Linked DNA regions of Homo sapiens: all the other regions are linked to region 4. Evidence: promoter capture Hi-C in 16 types of primary human blood cells and fetal thymus (Javierre and others, 2016). All regions are on one chromosome and are shown on one strand. Each heading gives the region's core, a stretch centred on a gene start or on the middle of the fragment in contact. The rest is flanking DNA. Distances are from core to core; before and after follow the strand shown. Region 1 overlaps TMED7-TICAM2 (TMED7-TICAM2 readthrough). Region 2 overlaps LOC102467217 (a long non-coding RNA gene). Region 3 overlaps TMED7-TICAM2 (TMED7-TICAM2 readthrough). Region 4 holds the start of CCDC112 (coiled-coil domain containing 112). Region 5 has its middle 12 kb from the start of FEM1C.

The links. Contacts are between HindIII fragments. The CHiCAGO score rates a contact against its expected background, and 5 or more counts as called.
Region 1: a contact is called between a fragment that was not itself captured here and the fragment with the promoter of CCDC112 in region 4, in 12 of 17 cell types (monocytes, activated CD4 T cells, naive CD4 T cells and 9 more). The highest score is 10.9, in monocytes.
Region 2: a fragment that was not itself captured here is called in contact with the fragment with the promoter of CCDC112 in region 4 in 2 of 17 cell types (neutrophils and fetal thymus); the score reaches 6.8 in neutrophils.
Region 3: a contact is called between a fragment that was not itself captured here and the fragment with the promoter of CCDC112 in region 4, in 17 of 17 cell types (M0 macrophages, M1 macrophages, M2 macrophages and 14 more). The highest score is 23.0, in M0 macrophages.
Region 5: a contact is called between a fragment that was not itself captured here and the fragment with the promoter of CCDC112 in region 4, in 17 of 17 cell types (total CD4 T cells, M2 macrophages, naive CD8 T cells and 14 more). The highest score is 12.2, in total CD4 T cells.

What each region holds. Positions count from the first base shown.
Region 1 is chr5:115,617,214-115,620,608 of GRCh38, forward strand. TMED7-TICAM2 (TMED7-TICAM2 readthrough) reads right to left here. Exons shown (of 4, transcript NM_001164469.4): 2 at 3,222-3,395. TMED7 (transmembrane p24 trafficking protein 7) reads right to left here. Exons shown (of 3, transcript NM_181836.6): 2 at 3,222-3,395. TICAM2-AS1 (TICAM2 antisense RNA 1) reads left to right here. Exons shown (of 3, transcript NR_109875.1): 3 at 2,855-3,206. Among named protein-coding and RNA genes, the nearest start is that of TMED7, 7.1 kb to the right of the region's middle. The HindIII fragment of the contact is 4,837 bases long and covers 1-3,395 here.
Region 2 is chr5:115,656,372-115,659,532 of GRCh38, forward strand. The region is part of intron 3 of LOC102467217 (a long non-coding RNA gene); the gene reads right to left. Among named protein-coding and RNA genes, the nearest start is that of TMED7-TICAM2, 32 kb to the left of the region's middle. The HindIII fragment of the contact is 746 bases long and covers 1,515-2,260 here.
Region 3 is chr5:115,597,625-115,600,989 of GRCh38, forward strand. All of the region lies in intron 3 of TMED7-TICAM2 (TMED7-TICAM2 readthrough), which reads right to left. All of the region lies in intron 1 of TICAM2 (TIR domain containing adaptor molecule 2), which reads right to left. Among named protein-coding and RNA genes, the nearest start is that of TICAM2-AS1, 2.8 kb to the right of the region's middle. The HindIII fragment of the contact is 958 bases long and covers 966-1,923 here.
Region 4 is chr5:115,294,885-115,298,176 of GRCh38, forward strand. It overlaps CCDC112 (coiled-coil domain containing 112), which reads right to left and starts at 1,770. Exons shown (of 10, transcript NM_001040440.3): 1 at 1,543-1,770. The coding sequence starts at 1,659. It overlaps LOC105379129 (a long non-coding RNA gene), which reads left to right and starts at 2,044. Exons shown (of 5, transcript XR_948684.3): 1 at 2,044-2,464. RefSeq lists a silencer at 1,419-1,868. The HindIII fragment of the contact is 8,729 bases long and covers 1-3,292 here.
Region 5 is chr5:115,555,211-115,558,283 of GRCh38, forward strand. No RefSeq gene overlaps it. Among named protein-coding and RNA genes, the nearest start is that of FEM1C, 12 kb to the left of the region's middle. The HindIII fragment of the contact is 6,980 bases long and covers 1-3,073 here.

The DNA of each region.
Region 1 (3,395 bases), core at 208-2,707, 320 kb after region 4:
TATTTTTCTACTGCTGCAAACTTAATCCTAGTGGTAAAATATATGTTTTATTATTATTTTATGCAACAAGCCTGTATTAAGAGTTTTAAAAACAAATCTAAGTTTGTTTTAATTTTAGTTAAGGAATATAGAAATTAGAAAATAATGTTTAATGAAGTTCTGCCAAAGTAAGTATGAAAGGAATAATTATTAAAATATTCTATTAAAAGTGCTTTTAAAAAATGTAAGAAATTATGAGGCCAACAAACTGCATTAACCTATTAGAAGAGTCAAATATTTTTGTTGTCCTTGCTTTGTTCAGGCCCCTAGGAATGAAAAATTTGCAAAACTGTGCTAAAATGATTCCTAATTTGTGATGAGGAGCTAGAGAGAGATGTGCTTCTAGGATTTGCTTTCTCTATATTCTCAAAATGGCATATTGCCCAAGGATTCTTCACCTGGAAAGTACACATAAAGGCAAGGAGTTGACCCAAATGCAGAATATTTAGGAACTCCTTCAAGCCTGTCCATGGGGTATGGGTTAAGAACTACTGGATTAGAGAAAATCACAGAAATTAAATTACATGCATTCTACAACTTTTGAGATGTGACTTTTTTTGAGATGGAGTCTCGCTCTGTCACCCAGGCTGGAGTGCAATGGCGCAATCTTGGCTCACTGCAACTTCCACCTCCTAGGTTCAAGTGATTCTCCTGCCTCAGCCTCCTGAGTAGCTGGGATTACAGGTGCACTCCACCACATCCAGCTAATTTTTGTATTTTTAGTAGAAACAGGGTTTTACCATGTTGGTCAGGCTGGTCTCTAACTACTGACCTCATGATCCGCCCGCCTCGGCCTCCCAAAGTGCTGGGATTACAGGCGTAAGCCACCACGCCTGGCCTGAGATGTGATTTTTAAAAAACTTTTACAGTGAAAACTTCCATATATATTCAAAAGTATTGAGAAAAGTACAATGAACCCCCACCATGTCAACAAAGATTAACACATGGCTAATCTTGCTTCATCTACATTCCCCGATTATTTTTAAAGCAAATCTCAGATATTTTATCACTTCAGCTACAAATACTTTTATACTTTATTTCTAAAAGATAACACTTTTTAAAAACATAACCCCAATAGTATTATAACACATGAAATAATCTAAAACAGTTCCTTAAAGTCAGGAAATAGTGTTCAAATTTCCCCTATTGTTTCAAAGTTGGTTTTCAAGTAAGAATCCAAGTAAGGTTAACACAATCATTTGGCTGATGTAAGTGTTCATTAATCTTTAGGCTTTCTTCCTTGTTTTTCCTTTTTTCCTTGCCATCAACCCCTATCCTGTGGCATTTCCCACGTCCTGGATTTTGTTGATTGCATTCCCATGTTATTCCTTTATCCTCTGTATTTCTTGTAAACTGGCATTTGGAGCTAGAGACTTGATGGAATTCAGGTGCAATGTTCTGGGTGGGAACGTCTAGTAGTCAATGTTGTGTACTTCTTACTGCATATTATGATAAGGCACATAATGTCTAGTTATCTCTCCATTTGTGAATGATCATTCAGTCTGATCCACTCAGTATAAAGTTCCCCATCAGCCTTTTACTTAATGGTTTTAGTAGTGACTGCTGATCATTGCCTACTCTAAATCCATCATTTTATCAACAGGTAAAAAATGGTGAGAGTAAAACTTTTATCATTTATTCTGCATTACTAGCTGGTAATTTTGTTCTGAACTTACTAGCTGGTAATTTTGTTCTGAACTTACTAGCTGGTAATTTTCAATTTTAAAGTATGAAAAGTTGCTTTATAATGATCCCTATTATATGATACATTATCTTTTTGAAAGTAGAAAAATAAGACTGAGAAAAATAAAAAATGTAGCATGGATAAAGACGGGTATGATACTAACTGCTTTATTACCATTCATTTCTTATATTTACCCACTTAGGTTTTTAGAACAAGCCACCTTATACAAGTTAAAATTCATGAAGGAATGGATACAGGTTAAGGTAATGGCCCCAAAGAAATATCATTTTACAAAGCAAGGTGTCCTTCACACAAGACCTTAAAATAAAGAGAACATTTCTAAAATTAAGAGTATTTGAATATATCTTGCTAATTCTAACAACAGGTTTATGAATTAAGGCTTTTACACATTCTTAAAGCTGTTTCTTTCACCATGACTTTGGCCAAGAGACTAAATAGAACCTGGGAACACTAAAATACCAGTTTAAGATGTTAACGAATAAGTGGTAAATAATTCTTTTTCATGCCTAATTGAGTAACTTTTAGATACGATCTAAGCCCATACAGGTTGAGTATCCCTTATCCAAAATGTTTGGGACCAGAAGTGCTTTGAATTTCAGATTTTTTCTGATTTTGGAATGTCTACATATACATAATGAGATATCTTTGTGATGGAACCCAGGTCTAGACATGAAATTCATTTATGTTTCATATATGCCTTATACATGCAGCCTTAAGGCAACTGTATATGATATTTTCAATGATGTGTCATGAGATCAGATGTAACAATCTTCCACTTGTGTCATCAGGTTGGAGCTAAAAAAAAGTTTTGGATTTTGAAGCATTTTGGATTTTGCTGTATTTGAACTAGAAATAAAACAGTCCTCATCACCTAAGCAATAGTTGTTCACTGGGTTTAAATTTTTTACGCTTTCTCTATGTCTCCAAAATAAATCTGAATTTAGCTTTTGTAACTATTTTTGTGAGATGACTTACCATTAATCTTCAATATTTCACCTAAAGTTACAGCACAAGTTACTGTTACAGCAGCTTGAGTAACACTAAGTAATGGTATAAAGGCTATGATATGGTATTATTTATCTACTAATTTAGGCATCATTTTGCTTCCAGTTACACCAGCCTCCTGAGTATGACAGCAACATTCCTTCAGGGATTAAAGAAAATGCTTCAGAAGATTGGAACACTGCTCAGCCTTCCCAACCTTCTTTTACCACTGATGTTTCTACCTTAGTGATCTTCCTCCTTATTTTAATGCTTCTTTCTCTTTACAATTAAAAGTTCATAAAATCTTTCAACATTATTTTTCACTACAAAAGTCTGAAGTTCTCTGTGAAATGCCTACATGTAAGAATTAAGATAGATTTTAAAGACTGTCAGTCTCAAAATTCCATGCTCATCAGTTAGTGCATGATATTAAATTATGCTTTTTTCCTCCTTTTAAATATACCAACATTATATTGCTGATTTTTTTATTTACCTGGGTAAGAGCACTGACTCGGTTCTCACTAGGAAACAAAGGTGGGTCTTCTCCAACTTGAAAATCAAAATATACAGTTTTATGTGTGAAAGTAGAAAATTCATTGCTGAAGCAAAATTTGTATGTCCCATTTTTGGAGGCTGTGAAGGTAAAACTATCATACTGTTTCTTCAT
Region 2 (3,161 bases), core at 638-3,137, 360 kb after region 4:
TTTGTTTTTAAACTGTTACTACTGTTTAAATCTTCCTGCATTCTGAAGCTGTTTGTTTCTCTGATGTCAGCAGCAGTACAAACCACAAACCTTCAAGTTTATGGACACAGTGACTTTTTGTTTTAAGGACATAGGGGAAGAGAGGTGGAGAAGAATTTCCCTATGACCAGAATGATCCTGAAGGGTGACTGATAAGTGAATTGTGTGTGTGTGTTTATGATATGCAGAGCCCTCTACTGTGTGGATCCCAGGGCAGTGGCCCCTCTAGCTCAGGTGTAAGGATGGTCCTGTAAGGGATGACATATGGCAGAGGAGAGGTAATGAACATTTTCACTGTTCATCCTACTTGATTATCAGAGGGTTGAGCACTGTAGACTTTCATCGTCTTGAAACACCTTTTCCTTGTCTTTTGTTATACCACCCTTTCTGACTTTCTTCCCAACTCCTCAGCTACTTTTTCTCAGTCTCCTTTGCAAGACCATCTTCCTCAACCCAATATTAATGCACAACGAGGCTCAGTTTATAGGCCCTCTACACCCACAGCTTTAAATATGGTCTATTTGCCATTGATGACTACTCAGCATCTACATTTGGACATCTTTAAGGAACCACAAATTTTAACATTATTAAGATCCAATTCATATTTTGCTTGATATTTTATGATTGCCCTTCTAGATCCACTCTTCATTCCTTTCCATCCTTATGTGTGTCCTGAGAGGGTATCCTGTGGGTATATTCTACCTCAACAGACTCTCTTGTTGTATAAATTTCCTTTGCATTTGGATTTGGGTTTGAAGATTCCTGGTAGAAAATCTGAGGGAGGGCAAAAAGTAAGGTAGAGGTATTTGTTCCCTTAGCTACCTCCATCCAGGGTTGCCTAGGCCTGGGAGCAGAACCTCTTGCCCAAATATCTTATCTCCTATCATGTGACTTCCTAAACTAGGTTCCCATAATTGCTCCTTCTCTTTGCCTTTTGGAAATTCTACTATTTACAGTCCCAGAGTATTGCACTATTTCTCATGGTTTGTCCTACTCTGATTGCACTTTTATAAATAGTCCCTTCAAATTACCCAATTTGACTGCACCATCTTTTTCCCACTGGGAACTTAATTGGCACAGTAATTGATACTGTGACTGGTCCCAGAAAACAAAGTAAAATCCTTAAAATCCTGGACTGGATTGTGCAATATTTGAAGAGTACAGGGGGAATGGGGTATGGACAATCCTTGACATATAGTAGTATCACAGTTACTCAAACTGTCACTGGTGATGACACAGGAGGTCAAGGTTTTGGGAAATCAAGTAGCGGTAAAACTTGATTGCTACGAGTTCTACAGATCTTAGGAACTATAGTGTCATCTGGGTTGTTCTAAAGGCCCTAGGGAGAATAAGTAGGGACAAAGAGAAATGAAATTGCCAGATGAGAATTTATGTGGAAAATCAGAGAGCCCTGAATGCAACTTTAAAAGCACATCTTATTTCCAATAACTGCAGGAGGAGGTAGTTGAGAACTAAGCTTAGGATCTGATTATAAGGGTTGCAGCATTAATTAAATGCTCAAGTTCATGAGGCTTATTATATTAAAATATAGACACTTAGGGGGAATGAATGCAACCCTGTCCCCTGAGTCATGGAATGATTCATACTACTGCAAAGAAAGTATGACAATGCGTTCACACCACTGGAATTCACTAGTCTTGCCCATCTCCAAAAAGGAGCTGGATCACCAGAAGAGCAGAATAGCCTGCTGACCTCACAATTTTGGCACCAGCTAAAAGAAAGCACCTTCAAGGTTAGGGGGCTATCCTGCAAGATACGGCAAATGCCTTAAATGAGCAACATCTCTCTATATCTTTCTCTACAGGTAGAATGAATGGGTCTGGAGACCAAGCAAACATGTGACATTTGCAAAAATGTATAGTGTACAAGGCTACAAAACAAGGCTTAATAAATTCCTAAGAATGGATGCTATACAGCTTGTTCTCCGAAAAGAGTGCAGCAAAATTAGAAACCAACGTTAAAAGGAGATTAGAAACCCTCATATGTTTTGAAATTTTAAAAAACACTACAAAAACATTCATGGGTACAATATGGCAAGAGAAAAAATAAAAGGTATAGCGTTTGGAATGGAAGTAATAAAATCGTCATTATTTGCAGATGACATGAATTGGAAAAGAAAATGAATCTTGATACTTTTGTCATGCAATATAAAAAATCAGTATAAAATGGATCACAAACAAATGTAAAGGTAAAAGAGTGAAGCTTTTAAAAAATACATAAGAGAATCTTCATGGCCTTGAGGAGGGTAAACCTTTCTTAAACAGGACACTAAAAGCACTGCCAATGAGAGAAAAAAAAAGATTTCATTGAAGTACAAACTTTTGTTAATAAAAAGAGATTATTTAGAGAGTGAAAAGACAAACTACCAACTGAGAGAAGAAATTCACAATACATATATCTGTTAAAAGACATATGCAGAATATGCAAAGAACTCTTACAACTCAATTATAAAAAGACAATAATGCAATTTAGAAATCAGAAAAAGGTTTGAATTAACATTTCATAAAAGAAGATATGCAAATGACCAATTAGCATATAAAAAGGAGTTCAGAATTATAGTCAGCAGGTAAATGAAACATGAATGACATTAAGGTACTACGCTTCACACCAAAATAAGTAAAATTTAGAAAAAAACTGACAATACCAAATATGATGGAACGTGGAATGACCAACTCTCACACATATACTGGTGGGAGTGTAAGTTGGTAAAAACCACTATGAAAAACAATTTGGAAATATCTAATAAAGCTAAATATATGTCTATTCTATAATTCAAAAATTCTACTGCTAGCTATATTCCCAACAGAAATGAGTAAAAATGTCCAGCAAAAGACATTTATAAGAACTTTCATACTAGTTTTACTCATAATAGCCCCACACTGGAAGCAATACAAATATGACTTGAGAGTAGAATGGACAAATAAGTATATTCATTGTCAGTAATGGAGAGGGGGAAAAAACCTGTTGCTTTAATATGAATAAATCTCACAGACATAATGATGAGTGAAAGAAATCAGTCACAAAATGGGACACATGGTTCCTTCTAGATGATATTAAGAAGAGGTAAGACTAATCCATGGTATTAGTCAATAGCGGTTATC
Region 3 (3,365 bases), core at 195-2,694, 300 kb after region 4:
GTTAAACAAAATGCAGAGAAAATAGATTAGAAAGAAGTACTGTCGTCTCTTGGTATACTTAAGGGTAGGGAAGACTGATTCCAGGGGTTCCAGGACCCCTGCATATACCAAAATCCAAGAATACTCAAGTCCCACAGTCAGCCTGCAGAGCCTGCGTATACAAAAAGTCAGCCCTCCGTATGTGTGGGTTTTGCATCCTGGAATACCGCATTTTTGATCCATGTTTTGTTGGAGAAAATCCACATATGAGGGGACCCACATAATACAAACCCATGTTGTTCATGGGCCAAGTGAATACCAAAAAGGTAACATTGATCCTCTGTGAATGGTATATGCATAAGAATATATAAATGTGTATATATATGTATTCCTTCATATATATGTGAAGAACTCACGTGTTCTTCACATGTACACATATATACACATACATGTTCACCTTTTGAACAATGATCACACAGTCTGAAAAAATAGTTTTTTAGTAAATAAAAATTCATTTTCTAGGCTTTATATTTTTATAAATATCAATTAGGTCAATAATTGTCAACAATTATGTCAATTATGTTGATTTGATTTCCATCTAAATAGTATCTTCCTTATATATATCTTTTCCAACACCTTTGGTAAGTGTCTTCCTTACATGCTCTATCTCTACGTTCCAAATGAGTTTAGCCTATCTCCAGGTTTAGCTCTATTTCATCTGTTTTTTATTTATATGCAAATATTCCAAGAGCATGGGTTTGCTAACTCTAAACCAAACAGGGCTTCTCCAACACTCTTCTTAAGTACCAAAGGACAGAACATTCATCTTCATCGTACCTAAAACAGGTCCTTGAGCAAGTAAATGTTTAAAAAAATGCTTCTATCCGATCTTCACCTGGGCACTGCTTTTTCATCTTGTGGACCCTATCTCTTCACTCAGTTGCTAGGAAGCTCCACGTTAATGAGTGCTCTGGCCAACAGACAGAAGCTTATGGCAAGTGTTTTGATACTATTAATAACTTCACTCCTAGTTTCTGCTTAACCCCCCTACTCTTCTCTCTGTTCGATATTCCAAATCTACTTATTATTTAATTTAATTTAATCTTATATTGGAAATATTTATTAAAGTATCTTAAATCCTAATTCTGAAATAAGAAGGAATTTTCTTCTTTTCTTTTACAAGAAGGGGTGATAGTACATACGCTACTGATAACAGAACCAGTTCCTTGAGATTAAAATGAGAAATAAGGATTATAAATTAAACAATCTTTTAGTTGCTACACCTCTTCATAAAGATGAAAATATTGTTTTTCATTTCTACATAGTCCTCAAAAGAGAACTGGAGCCAGATGCAGTGGTATGTGCCTCTAGGCCCAGCTATTTGGGAGGTTGAGGTGGGAAAATTGCTTGAGCCTGTGAGTTTAAGACCAGCCTGGGCAACATAGCAAGACCTTGTCTCAAAAAAAAAAAAAAAAAAGTTCAATTTATATAATATCTTATAAAATCTTCACAACTCTGACATTGGCTTAGTCACTGCAGAACTTAGAAACTTGTATATTATTCTCTGAACAAGTGTCTTTATTTTTCTTCTTCCCATAAACTACCTGCTGCTGGTACCATTCAAAGAGTCTCCAAATGTTAGATTATTGCTTCCTATTTCCTATTGCCCCTATTGGTGGGGGGAGGGGGGCAAAGTAACTGCCCCCCACCAAATATTATTACATATTCTTTTTAGTGAACTGGATATTTTTCTTCCATTTTCTGTATCTAAAAATGAAAACTGATGGTAAAGGGCAAATCTCCAAATCAGGAAGAGATTTTATAAAAACATAGAACTTAAAGGCAAACTGTCCATCTTATCAAAATTAGGCTCAAAAGAAAAATGGTTGTGCATTTTTAATATTAGGGAACTCAAGCAACCAACAATGTTTTAAAGGTTCCATAAGCTTCATGGAATACTAGAGAGTAGCATTCAGTATTTAATAGCAACCTACCGCACAGGCCCAGCAGCAAAAGAGATCTTGCTGCAATAGCACAGTAACCCCTGAGGCAGCATGCTAACAGAGAAGTGAGGGAGTACAGTGTGCAATGGTCTAGCAGACACCAGCTGCAGGCAAAGGCAACAGCAGCACAATCAGTGTTACTACAGTGGAGTGGATGAGAGGGAAGTCAGGAGATGAGTTCAGAGAACTAGTCAGGGACTAGATCACACAGGGCTTTAAAGCCATTGTAAGCCTGTTTTTCTTTTCTTTTTTTTTTCTTTCTTTTTTTTTGTGATTCTGATAAGAAGCCACCAGAAGGTTTTGAAGGGAAATGAAAGTTCTGAGTATGTATGACAAAAATCACTGCTATTTGGAAAAGACTGTAGAGGAGCAAGGGCAGAGGCAGAGACTTCTCAATCATGTAGGTAGGAGAGGACTGTGGCTTAGCTTAGAGAGGGAGAGAGAGGTGGGCAGATCTGGGTAGAGTCAACAGATTTTGTTGGATGCTTGGATGCGGAGTCTGACCTAAAAAGAGAAGTCAAGAGTAAATTCCTAGAATTCCGGCCTACTTGAATGGCAGTAACTGAGGCTGTTTATTGAGATAAGGGAGGGAGCTGAGGGGAAACAGAGGGAGAACTTGGTGAATCTGGCATCAGTAGTTCTATCTGTCCATACTAAATTTAAATGCCTATCAGACTTCCAAGTGGAGATGCTGAGTAAACAGCTGGACATACACATACATCTGGAGCTCAGAAGCGAACTAAAGCTAGGAATAAAATTTTGGAAGTCATCAGCTGATAGATATTATTTATAGCCAAGGAATATGGCTTGGGATACAAATTGTCCTGGGGGAAAGTATGGCTAGAAAAATATGGCCAAGAAATGAACTCTGTGGCATACTAAGATTTAGTGGTGGGGAAGCCTGGAGACACAATGAAGCAGAATGAAATGCAGAATATGGTGACCTGGAAGCCAAGTGAAGAAGAAAGAATATTAGTGAAGAACATTAGTGAAGAAAAAAGAATATTGAGGAGGGAGTGATCAAATGTTACTGAGGGGTCAGGAAAGATGAGAACTGTGCACAGACACTGGATTTCACAAGACAGTCATTGGCAACATCAGGACCATGCAGGGGGTAATGGGGACAAAAAGCCTCAGATGAGAGGGGGTAGGAAGAAACAGGGAAAATGAAAATGGAGACTTAGATTAAATCTTTCAAAGAGGATTTTTGTTTGTTATAAAAAGAAGCAAAGTAGGGGAGCGGGACCTAGAATGGGATGTGTGGTCTAGGGGGGATTAAAGACAGAAGATTTAACAGCAGATATTTGTTAAATGAATACATTTTAAGAATAGCATAAGGAACAAATGACTCAACACAGATGCCCATGATTCAACAGTGTAAAC
Region 4 (3,292 bases), core at 520-3,019:
AAAAGCCCAAACACACGTGAAGAATTCTACCTAACTATGCTGAGGTAGATTCTCAACAATGAGGCTCTGCTTTCCCTACTAAAGTGGTAAGACAGTATACACCATGGTTCTCAATCTCAGCACTACTAACTTTTGGACCAGATGATTTTTGTTATGGGTGGCTGTTCTCTGGCCTGTATCCATTAGATGCTAGCAGCCCCTCAACACCCCCCTGCTCCCCACTCTGACAGCCAAAAATGTCTCCAAACATTGCTAGATATCCTCTAGGGGATTGATAAAATATCTGAAAGAGCTCCACAGGTGATCTGATCCAACCCCTGAGAAGGCAAACATCACAAAAGTGTGCATCAATAACAACATTAGGCAACTCGCAAGAAATGCAGATCAGAAGACAGAACATTGCTACAAGAATTTAGAGAAATGATGGAGAAAGCCAGCAACATGGTGTCACACATTTTTTTGAGCATAGTACTTAAAAATACTTTACGTATTATGTATATTTATATATTTTACATTTTTTCCTGAGATACTTGGGACAGAGTTAGAATAATAAAGAGAATTATAGAGGATGTGTGAGAAAATTTGCCGTAGGTGGAATTTCCTGAAGGTCTACGAGTAAAGACACTGTATTTCCTTAAAGGAGGAAAAAGATGGAACCTCTCCTCAGCTCATGACAGCCTTCCTTCAGGTTTATATTGATCCACAAATTATTTAGTAAGTGCATACTACGTTCCAGGCACTACACAACAGGCATAGTTCTTGGTGCTGGGAATACAATAAAGAATAAAATTTCCAATACTTTCTGCCCTCATGGAGCTTACATTCTCATGGGGGTGCGAGGGAGGGTGAGGGGTGTGAGGAGAAACATAAACAATAGAAATAAAGTATGTAATATAATATATGGTACTAAGTGCTATGGGGAAAAATAAAACCAGAAACAGGGACTGGGTGTGCCGCGTAAGGCGATTCATTTTAGGGAGATCATGGAAAGTCTCGCTGAGCTGATAACATCTGAACAAAGATACCTTGTCCTCACCACCTAGAAAGCGGTCCTAAGCCGATCACTGGAAACACCTCTGCCTCCGACCATCCCATATTGTCTTTCTCCTTGTGTTCCCAGCGCCGGTACAGTAACAGAGCTGCCACCAATTACTGAGCACAGAGTCCCCCTCCAATCAAGCACTGTGCCAGGGGCTCCCCAGACATAACGTTAGTCCAAAGCTCGGGAGGTGCATGTTACTATTCCCAATTTTTAGAGAAGAAAGTGAGTCGCCGACAGCATATGTTCTTATCACGCGGCTAGGAAGCGGCAGAGCCGGGTTCCCACCCAGGTCTTCCTCGACTCCGAAACCACATGGAGGCGGCTCTGCAAAAGCTGTTAAACGCACAAGCCAACAAAGAGCAACGCCCAGCGCGTGCCAGGCCCCGAGCAGGGGAGGCGAACGCCGCGCCTCCCGCCGGCGCTGCAGAGGGCACCTGTTCAGCCAGGGCCTGCAGCCCCTCGCCTGCCGCCAGAGCAGCTCTCGGTTCTCCCGGATTTACCTGTTGAGGCGCTGGCGTCGCTCCCACGCCGGTCCCGGTGGCCGCGCCCGCCCCTGCCACAGCCCCGGCTACCGCGGTGGCCGCAGCCGCTACCACAACCGTCGTCAGTGCGGCCATGTTTACCCGCCGAGCTACTCGGGCCGCGGCGGCCACCGGTGCCTGGGGATTCGTGGCAGGCGCACCCTGGCCTCTGCAGACAGCTCCCTGCGCTGCGGGCTTGGCCGGGATGCAGGGCGGGGCCGAGATGTAGGGCGGGGTCGGGATGCAGGGCGGGGCTGAGATGCGGGGGTGCAGGGGTGCGGGGGTGCGGGAGGGGCGGGACTGGGGTGCAGGGCGGGGCCGAAATGCGAGGCGGGGGCCGGGATTCAGGCGGGGAGGGGCGGGGCGAGGGAGGGGCAAGGTGCCGGGCGGAGCCGGGATGCAGGGGAGGGGCGGGTCTGGGGTTCTGGGGCGGGCGGGTGTGGGGGCGGGGCGGGGCGGGGCGGGGGCTGCGCTCTGCCCTGTCGCGGGTTTATATACCCTTTGGGCACTTAACCGACTGTGCCAGCCCAGTCCCATACCTGTCAAGAAAATTCATTGTCTTACATCGTCCTTAAATTTTATTCGTGTTATAGTCAATATATACATATTTTTACCTAATATACATCCGCTTTCTAGGTTTCTACTTAGCGCTGCTGAGACTGAGTCTAAATGAAAAAACATTATCAATGGATTCTAACAATAAATCATATTTTAGATTTTTAAAGAAAAAAACCCAGCTTGCTCCACAGAACCAGATATCAGAGGCAGGAATGCCACAGTTACATTCCTAGGACTTGGTCAATGAGAAGACAGATTCCAAAAATACAGTGCTGGGAAGTTGGAAAAAAGCCACAGATGACGCTTCCAGTCAAGACAACCTGTGGCAACTGAGCTGATTTCTGTAGGTACTACCTTTTCCCCCTTTATAGAAATCGATTCATTCAGTCAGTCAATATGGAGCTCCTAGCATATGTCAGGCACTGTTCTAGGCCTTGGGAATTCATTGTTGAATTAGACACATAGGTAAGGTTCCTTCACCTTTAACAAGTAAACAAATAGGTATTTATTGAGCAATTCCTTTATGCCAGGGCTGTTATAAGTGCTTTATATGCACTTTTGCATTTAATCTTCACAAATAACTTCATGAAGTAGGTACTATTATCATCTCCATTTCAGTGATAAAGTTAAGGATCACATGGCCACACAGGTAGAGGGTAGGATACCTATCTAGACAGCCTGACTCCAGAGACCATCCTGGTAGAGGTATTAAACAGGCAGCGGGATAAACGCCTCTGGAGCCCAGGAGAGAGAGAGCTAAAGATACGAATTTGATCTTCCTATAGAAAATATTTGAAATAAGACTGAATGAGCTCACCCAGGGTGAGTATAAATTGAAGTCTGAGAACTAAGCCTAGGCCACTCCGAGAAGGTGACCACGGACAAGAGGAGAAGGGGACCAATATGGAGAGATCTGTGAGAAGGGAGGAAAACCGGAAGTCTGTGGAGGGAAGTTTTTGCAGAAGAGGCCGGACGTGGTGGCTTACGCCTGTAATCCCAGCACTTTGGGAGGCCGAGGTGGGCGGATCACGAGGTCAGGAGATGGAGACCATCCTGGCCAACATGGTGAAACCCCATCTCTACTAAAAATACAAAAATTAGCTGGGCGTGGTGGCGCCTGTCTGTAGTCCCAGCTACTCGGGAGGCTGAGGCAGGAGAATTGCTTGAACCA
Region 5 (3,073 bases), core at 109-2,608, 260 kb after region 4:
TCCACTCCCCATAGCTGCCATTGTGCCCTTTACTTCCTCTCTTAGGATCCTTGTGATGCTTTATCTATTTCCTTTATACAACTGGAAGGCCCAGGAGGGCAGGGGCCATGTTTGGATGTTCAATTCTGAGTCACCATAATTCAGCAGAGTGTGTGGCACACAGGTTGTCCTCAGTGAATATTTGCATAGTGAAAATGAATGAGTGGATGTGGAGACTCAGTCCACCTCTGTTCAGGCACAAGCTGGACTTTGAATAGGAAGATTCAGCCTTTCCCCTAGTTTCCAGGCCAAACTAGATACAGGGAGACAGGTTCAAATGTCTTTAGCGCACTCATCAGGCCAGCACCTCTAGAACAGCAGGACCCCCAACCTCGAGGAAGGAATGTATGAGCTGAGATCTGAATGTGGAATACCTTGTGCAAAGACCTAAAGAAGAAAGGGGCATGGCAATTCAGAGCTAGCAATGACAGCTCTTGTGCTGACCATGGGTTTCCAAATTGTTTCTTAGTTTCCTTTGTTGCTAATTAGTATTATAGTTTGCTGCTAATAATAGCAGTGAGCATTTATTTAGTGTTTCTGTGTGAAAGAGGCTGTGCAAAAAAGGTTTAGCATTGCTACGTTAATTTTTATAACAGACATTGTAAGTACTTCTATACAGATGGAGAAACCAAGGGTTAGAGAAGTTGAGTAACTTAAACAAATTCACATGGCTAGTAAATGGCAGGGTGGAATTTGTCTGACTTTAGACAGTCTGGGCCAGAATGTAGGTACTACGTTGCCTCCCCAGTATATTTCCTCAGTAATGGGTCTACTGTCTCCAATTTGCCATTCTCCATACCCCCTCAGTCCCTAGGTCCTGGGGCTGAGCTGCTGTGTATAGTTGTCTCCCTGAAGGACTCCCATCTATTTGGGACCTGGCCTGCAGCTTATAGCTTGCAGGACCACATCCCCATCACTGGAGAAACACCAGCAAGAATGGGCCCCACCACCTTGGTCTTGTTTTCTATCCTGAGCAGTTTCCTCTAACTTGCTTCCAACCTGCTTTCTTCTCCCATTCCTGACTGCTGGACACCTAATCCCTAGATTCACTGCCCATTTGTAGACTTATTTGCCCTTCAGATCTGATATGTGACCAGATTCCACTGGATCATTTGTGGATGGCTCATGTTGATTATGGTTTGCACTTACCCCTTTTGTTTTGCTGTTTCCAGTTTCTTTGAGTAAACACTTCATCTGGGAAATCCCATCCTCTGAACCCTGCCCGCTATGATAGGCTCCATGAGGATGTCCATGCCAAAATCAACATAACTGAAGGAGAGATGGAACCATGGCATGGTCTGAACCCCTAGATCCCGCCATGTCAGAGGTCAAATATCCCCTGGCCAGTGCCACTGTGTTGCTTGCCTCCAGAATCACTGAACAGTGCTCCCTGGAGTTAGGCAACATGCTAACCCTGTCCTAGCCTCTCGGATATATGAACAAACACATCCGTCTTCCAACGCTTTTTGTTTTTTGTTTAGGCCAATTTGAGTTGGATTTCATTCATTGCTATCAAAAGATTTCTGACAAATAGTAAACAAACATAACATATACAAAGTGAGGTCAGCACTAGGAAGAAGAAACACATATGCTTTTAAGGGTGTGCAACAGAAGCCATGACCTATTCTAAGGGGTCAACATGGGCTGCTTTGAGAAAGTGTTACTTGATGTGAAAGCCAGAGGAGGAGCAGTTAATTAGGAAGTGAGTAGAGCAAGGAGGAGGAGTCCAGGTAGAAGTAAACACTGTTTCCTAAGGACATGTCTTGAAGTGAGAAAAAACTCAGTGCACTGTGAAAGCAAATAGAAAGCCAACACGTGTGGAGTATTGTGAATAAGAGGGAGATGTGGACCCCCCAAGCTAGAGGCAGGTAGGAACCAGACCATGCAGTCCACAGAACTCTGTAATCATGGAGTATCCAGACTAGTGATGAATGCAAAGTGTTTTTCACTTGGCAGAGAAATAACTTGGTGGTGAATGTAGGAGTGGTGGTGCCAGGTGACAGAGTTTTTCAGATGGTCCCATTAACCCTTCCAGACTGAGGCATTAGCCTCCTAACAGGCCTTCCTACAACTGCTCTTGCCTCCTTAACCAAATTTCCCCCAGCTACTCAGAGAGAAAGGCACATATGTCATGAGGCTCCTTTAGATTCAGCAGCTTCTCCCTGCTCTTAGGGAAAAGTTTACAAATATTCATGTGGTTTCCAAAGCCCGCCAGGCTCTGGCCTGCACCTGCCCCACATCCTTGATTCGTACCTCTCTCCTCCCTGACAACTCCTCGCTGCCTTATTGGTATTGCTTTCTGCCTGCATGTCAGACTCTTGCTGGTTCCTCGGCTTCAGGCCCCACACACACTCTTTTCCTGGCCGATGCCTACCTTGCCACGCTACCACTAGGCCTCCACTTAAATGCCCCTCATACTTGCCCTAACCCTAAGGACTAAGTTGGGTCCTAGTTTATTCTCATAGTCCTCAGTCTCCTCACTGTTTTCATGCCTCATTCACTATCTGTGAATCTGTGAGCTCTGTGGGTCCTTTCCTGTCTCTCAGGGCCAGGCAGTAGTAATGCCAGGAACCTAGCAATAACTGTCACATTTCTTTTGTTATTCTGTGCGCTCTGGGAGGTGGGGGTGGGGGAGCGGTGAGAGGAAGTTAAAGGAAGAAAGGTTTACAACAGTTTGTATGTACTGTTCATGGAGACTGATTTTTTGTTTTGTTTTGTTTTGTTTTGTTTTTATTGTCAGGAAGTATGTGCATGAACAAAGAATTTTGAGAATGAATTCTTCTGAAGAGAAGGATATAGGTCATTTCTGGACCTTTCAATGTTAAACGCTGTGTTTTCCTTGCCTCCAGGCCCTAACTGTGTCCCTGCCATGTTTCTGTCATGTTCTTAAGGCCACTGAGTTTAGGTAGTTAACACATCATGCCAGGTGATAAGAGCACAGGCTTTAGAAGCAGATAATTCAGTTCAACACACATGTATTGCCTGCAGCAGGTTCAGAATAAGACAGAGTCCCACCCCTCATGACCTCACAGTC